Linked DNA regions of Homo sapiens: region 1 is linked to region 2. The links are contacts of gene promoters, found by promoter capture Hi-C in blood cells and fetal thymus (Javierre and others, 2016). All regions are on one chromosome and are shown on one strand. Each heading gives the region's core, a stretch centred on a gene start or on the middle of the fragment in contact. The rest is flanking DNA. Distances are from core to core; before and after follow the strand shown.

Region 1 (3,136 bases), core at 590-3,089, 160 kb after region 2:
CTTACATAGTAGGCGAGAATTATATGTTTGTAAGAAGAATACCTGAATGAATGAATAAATGAATGAATTTTGGCATTTTGGGATGCTCTAGAGGGAATAACACTACTCAGAATTGCATGGAATGGTCAGCAGTAGTGTTCATCAGAAAGCTTTTTGAAAAATTTTTAAATTATTTTTAAATTAAAAAAATTTTTTTTGAGACAGGGTCTTGCTATGTTGCCTAGGCTGGTCTTGAACTCCTAGGTTCAAGTGGTCCTCCCACCCTGGCCTCCCAAATGCTGGGATTACAGGTGTGATCCATCTTGCACAGCCCCATTGGGAAGTATTTTTTTATCCTTTCATAGATAAAGAAACAAAAGTATCAATTAGTAAGCATCTAGTTTGTTTCAGGCCCTGTGCTTTGCACATGTGTCATTTAAGCTTCATAACAATCCTTGGGGATAAGCATTGTTTCCTCAAATAGGAGGAGGAGCTGAGATTTAGAGCTCATAAGTCATCCAAAGTCACACCGGAGGGCTGAGGACGGAAGGTGTGCAGGTGATTTAGGCACTCCATTTTTGCCGTTCCTCCTTTGCCCTCTGGTCTCTGTGCTCCCTTTGGTATTCCTGGAGAGAAGGCCAGAGCCTTGTTCACACAGCTCCAGAGGGAATGGGGCACTCCCTGGGGCAGTGTGGGGACTTCATCTCTACCTTCCCACGGGCCGAGCACAGTGCCTGGCACACAGCGAGTGCAGGGTAAACCCTCTAGGAGTGAATGGAAAAGCTGTGATGATATGAAAGAATATTATTACATGTTCCCCCTTCCTATACTTACTCATCTTTCACAAACGTGTAGATTAGAAGCTGCTTGAGGGCAGAGTCTTGGTGCAAGCTTCTCTGTGTGGCGCTCTGTGGTAGGCCACAGCAGCTGAAATATCCCAGTGGAGTAGGAGTTGGCAAATTGCACCCTGTGGGCTAAATCTGACAACTGTCTGTTTGTATAAATAAAGTTTTATTGAAACACGGCTTCACACATATATTGTCTACAGCTACTTTGACTCCATCACAGAGTTGAGTAGTTGTGATGTGGACTGCATGCCCTGCAAAGCCTACAATATTTACTCTCTGGCCTTCACAGAAAAAGTTTGTTGATCCTTACAATTGAGATTCCCTTTGTGGATTCAGCTTGTCTCAGCCTCTTCGAGATGAACGTTGCTGAGAGTGGGGTGGCAGGTGCTCCGGTGAAGGAGGAAGTAACCAGCAGTAGACAAGGGCAGAAGCCTATAAAGCTTGACCTCCCCCACCTCATAGTTTACTCATTGTTGCCCCAAACTTACACAACTCAAGACAGGGATCCCAGGATGAAGTCGCGGGGTACAGGCGTTCCCTAAGCCTAGCTGGTTGCACCTCTCTACCAAAATAATAGTAATCCAAACGCAGCATTTCATGAGGCTGAGGCAGAAGGATCACTTGAGGCCAGGAGTTTGAGACCTTCTTGGGCAACATAGTGAGACCCTCCCCCCATCTCTATAAAAAATTAAAATTTAACCAGGCATGGTCGTGCACACCTGTAGTCCTAGCTACTCAGGAGGCTGAGATGGGAGGATTGCTTGAGCCCAGAGGATTGAGGCTGCAGTGAGCCATGATGGTGCCACTGCACTCCAGCCTGGGTGACAGAACAAGACTCTGTCTCTTAAAGAAAAAAATCCTGGGAGAGGTGCTGTCCATCTCTCCCATCCCTACAATGAGTTTCTTGCCACGCCAGAGGGTGGCAGAATCTGAAACCTAGACGATCTCAACAGGTTGGCATGAGAGGCCAAGTCTAATAAAATGAAGTCAAACTGGGATAAATGGAAGGTTGCACCCTCAGGTAAAACCAAAATCAGTACCATAAGCATCCATTTTGGGAAGGTAAAGGTTAATTACCATCTTTGAGACAAAGCATGACTGGCTTTTGTAGATGGAAAATTCATATGAGTAGTCAGTGGTGTGAACTCCCACAAAATGAGTTTGGTCTCAAGCTGTATTCATGGAATTTTGGAATCTGAGATTAGAGACAAGAGCATCCCATTCTTTCTCTGTCTTCGGGCAGGACCAGATGTGAAATATCCTGCTTGAAACAAATGGGAGTGCAGCAGGAGTGGGGGCCGCTCAGACACAGCTCTGAGTAGTGTCCTGGGAATCAACGCAGCTGGGTGCTTTAGCCTGGAGATCGGAGCAGAGTGAGGGCTGAGAAGAGGAGCGAGCTCACTTGTCTTGGGAGGTCCCCAGGGTTGGATGTGGAATATGTGTCCTGAGGTTCTCGGCAGAAATTGCAATGTCCATCTCTCTTCCCTGGAAGTTCGATCTTTGAGCCCATGAGTACTTTCTGGACACATTCCGGGCAGCAAGAGTTTGGGGAGATGGGGTTGGGATTAGCTTTTAATAGATGATAAAGCTTAGGCCAAAATAATCAACCTGGTTCTTCTTTTTTCACTGCATTCGAATGGAAAGAGCGCTAGACTGCGAGTCAGGACAGCTGCCTGGACTCCCAGCTCCCCTACTCACTAGCTATATGGCTTTGTATAGATCATTTTACTGTCTGAGCTGCGGTTTCCTTCTCTAAAAGAAAATGGAATAATGAACTCTGTCCACGTTATGTGAAAGCAGCTCATGAATCCTGCCGTGCTCTGTGGGTGAGGGCCTCGCTCAAGAGTGCTGTTGGGAGAGGCCTTCAGGTGCAGTTCCTCGGCTCCCTGGACACTCAGCTGGGGGCTCATGGGTCCTGGGGAGGGCTCCGGATGCAGGGGGCAGTGATGGCCAAGGCCCTTGGGGGCTCTCTGTTGGGGCCACTCACAGCAGGGATGCAGATGTTCAATATCAGCACCCCCTCTCCCAGCATCTGGAGAAACAGCCTTGCCGCTGACTCCAGGCAGGCTCTAGATGATCAGCTGATGATGAAATTTACATCTGAGCCTGTTCCCTTGAGATCTCACAGATGATTCCATTTTGGAACCTTTCCCATCCCCCTCATTTCCTTCCCAAACCTCTTCTCTCAGTGGGAAAGGGTATCGTCTCCCTCCAGGGTACCCGGGAAATTCCCATAGAAATGTCCTCAGGGCTGTTCCACCCGGGAACACTGGGCAGCCCCTCCTCCTGGTTCCAGCAGCTCTTAGAGA
Region 2 (2,924 bases), core at 125-2,624:
TGGAGTGCAATAGCGCGATCTCAGCTCACTGCAACCTCTGCCTCCTGTGTTCAAGCGATTCTCCTGCCTCAGCCTCCCAGGTAGCTGGGATTATAGGCGCCTGCCACCATGCCTGGCTAATTTTTGTATTTTTAGTAGAGACGCAGTTTCAGCATGTTGGCCAGGCTGGTCTTGAACTCCAGACCTCAGGTGATCCGCCCGCCTTGGCCTCCCAAAGTGCTGGGATTACAGGCATGAGCCACCGCGCTCGGCTAGACCTGACAGGTTTTAAAAGGATTACTGGTTGCTGTGTTAAAACAGACTGCAGGATGGCTTAGGTAGCCAGTAGGTTTTTTTTTTTTTTTGGAGACGTAGTCTTGCTCTGTTGGCCTGGCTGGAGTGCAGCGGTGTCATCTTGGCTCACTGCAAACTCCGCTTCCCGGGTTCAAGTGATTCTCCTGCCTCAGCCTCCGGAGTAGTTGGGACTACAGGCGCCCACCACCACACTCGGCTTTTTTGTATTTTTAGTAGAGACGGGTTTCACCATGTTGGCCAGGATGGTCTCGATCTCTTGACCTCGTGATCCACCCGCCTTGGCCTCCCAAAGTGTTGCGATTACAGGCGTGAGCCACCACGCCTGGACGGGTAGCCAGTAGTTTCTAGGGCTGGAGAGATCTAGGATGAGAGAAGTTTCCACATTCCTGTTACAGGCTCTCTAAGGCTTCAGCTCCTTTTTCTAGGACTAAGCTGGATCTCAAGTAAACACTAGAGAGGGGGCAGCTGAAGCTCCAGGAGTGTGTGGGGCTCCCTGGGGCTGGATGGCGGTGGCGGGCAGGCGAGCTGGGCTGTGCTCGGGTGTGTTACAGTAAAGACGCCCAGCTTGGCGCTGGCCCGGCCTTTTCACGGTTTTAGGCTCTACAGAGAGCGGCTGCAGAGCTCACCCGGCTGGCAGGAGCCACCGAGGCCGGACACGTGGGCGACTTATTGACCAAGTGGGGAGGAAGCAGCCCCGCACTGCTCTCCCGACTGCGGACCACCGTTGGGCTCCTGCGCATCCTAAGCCCCACCGCCTCACCTCCAGTCCCCACAGCGTTCGCGCTCCCAGCCGGGGTAAGCGGAAGAAAACAAAGGCCCGGCTCCATCAGGGCACCAATCCCGCTCGTCGGCCTCTTTCTCGGCCTCCAATGAGCTTCTAGAGTGTTATCACGCCAGTCTCCTTCCGCGACTGATTGGCCGGGGTCTTCCTAGTGTGAGCGGCCCTGGCCAATCAGCGCCCGTCAGCCCACCCCACGAGGCCGCAGCTAGCCCCGCTGGCGGCCGAGGCCGGTTGAAGTGGGCGGAGCGGCGGGCGGGGCGTCGCCGTACTAGGCCTGCCCCCTGTCCGGCCAGCCCCTCGAAGCACCTACTCCACAGGTCCAGCCGGCCGGTGAGCGCCTGGGGACCGCAGAGGTGAGAGTCGCGCCCGGGAGTCCGCCGCCTGCGCCAGGATGGAGTTCGTGAAATGCCTTGGCCACCCCGAAGAGTTCTACAACCTGGTGCGCTTCCGGATCGGGGGCAAGCGGAAGGTGATGCCCAAGATGGACCAGGTGGGCCGAGCCTCCCTGCTTGCCCGGGGCGGGGAAGGAGCTCGCTGGGCCGGCCTCAGGGCCTGAGCGGCCGGGCCCGGATCTGGGGCAAGGGGCGCGGCGAGCAGGGCCGACGCCTGGGTGTTCCCGTCCCCCTTTCCTCGAGCCTTCCCCCTGTAGGGCCCGGGTGGACGCGGCCGTCCTGGCTGACCTGTCCCTGCCCCCGCAAGCCGCCCTGGGCATGAGCGACTTTTGCGTGGTTCCCGGTGGTTGCGCTCCCCGTTTCGTCCCCTCCGTGAGCATCGGCGCTTACCGGTATTTTAACCCGAGGGTTACACATCTGAGGCAATGTGGGTGGGTTACGCGGGAGAGGACGAGTGAGTTTTTTGGTAAGCGGAATGAACTATGCAGATAACATCACATGAAGGCCGTTTCTGGAATGAAGTCTGACTCCTCCAGTTTCACCACCTCTTCCGGAGCTCTCCCCGCCTTGCTGCCTTCCATCGCTTCATCCTCGGTGCTTCCTGAGTTTTAAAATCGCCTATCTACGCTTCCAAGTTCCAATGAGTTATCTAACGTCTATGGATTAGCTAGGTGGTTGGTGGAAGGTCAGAACTTGGTTTTACTTAGATTTTTATCTGCCTCATGCCTGTACTATTTGTTTAATGAATGCATAGGAGGTGTTTTTATTCCAACAAGAAAATTATTCGTACGCGATTATTGAATGAATAGACAAATTCAGCCAAGTTCTTCTGGTCTGGACCAGCCTGGCTGATTTCTGTAACTTTTTTGGGCCAACAGGACAGTAGCAAATGTGACTCAGGCCGAGGCTTGATAGGTGCCTGAACATCGGAGTCTTTCTTTCAGTGTCCATGTGCTTCAGTAAACACACTAGAAAATAAATTTCTGGTTTTTGTCCCCAGTAGACTACACCCTCATTTGGTGTTATTTTTCACGTGCTATCTTTAATACAGGTACATCCTTCAGTCTATTTGTAGAACATTCAGTTTTCTTCATCTTTTCTTTGCCGGTGCTACATTATTTGAATTATTTTGCTACAGAATAACTTCTATTATTTGATATGGCAGATGTCACTTTTTATATTTAGATATAGCATTCATTTATTTAACAAATATTTGACGACCAGTTGTATATCAGATAGTGTTCTAGGTGCTGGAGGTACAACAGTGAACAAGCTAGGTGAAGACCTTGATTTTATAAAACTTACTTTTTAGTGGAAGAGAGACAATTTAAGAAAGCGAATGTACAGTTTTTCACGTGGAGAAAAGCACTGCAGAGGAAGATACTAGCAGGGCAAGGGATCTGAGTGCAGTCAGACCTCATTTGGGTCCAGACTTCATTCCTCTATGTCTCTTTCCT

The links. The method cuts DNA at HindIII sites, captures the fragments that hold promoters and counts their contacts. A CHiCAGO score of 5 or more calls a contact.
Region 1: a contact is called between a fragment that was not itself captured here and the fragment with the promoter of FDFT1 in region 2, in 2 of 17 cell types (monocytes and M2 macrophages). The highest score is 6.7, in monocytes.

The regions. Positions count from the first base shown.
Region 1 is chr8:11,960,976-11,964,111 of GRCh38, forward strand. No RefSeq gene overlaps it. Among named protein-coding and RNA genes, the nearest start is that of DEFB136, 12 kb to the right of the region's middle. The HindIII fragment of the contact is 1,148 bases long and covers 1,266-2,413 here.
Region 2 is chr8:11,801,367-11,804,290 of GRCh38, forward strand. It overlaps FDFT1 (farnesyl-diphosphate farnesyltransferase 1), which reads left to right and starts at 1,375. Exons shown (of 8, transcript NM_004462.5): 1 at 1,375-1,565. The coding sequence starts at 1,467. RefSeq lists enhancers at 1-164, 165-906, 944-1,103 and silencers at 1,174-1,423, 1,634-1,753. The HindIII fragment of the contact is 12,361 bases long and covers 1-2,924 here.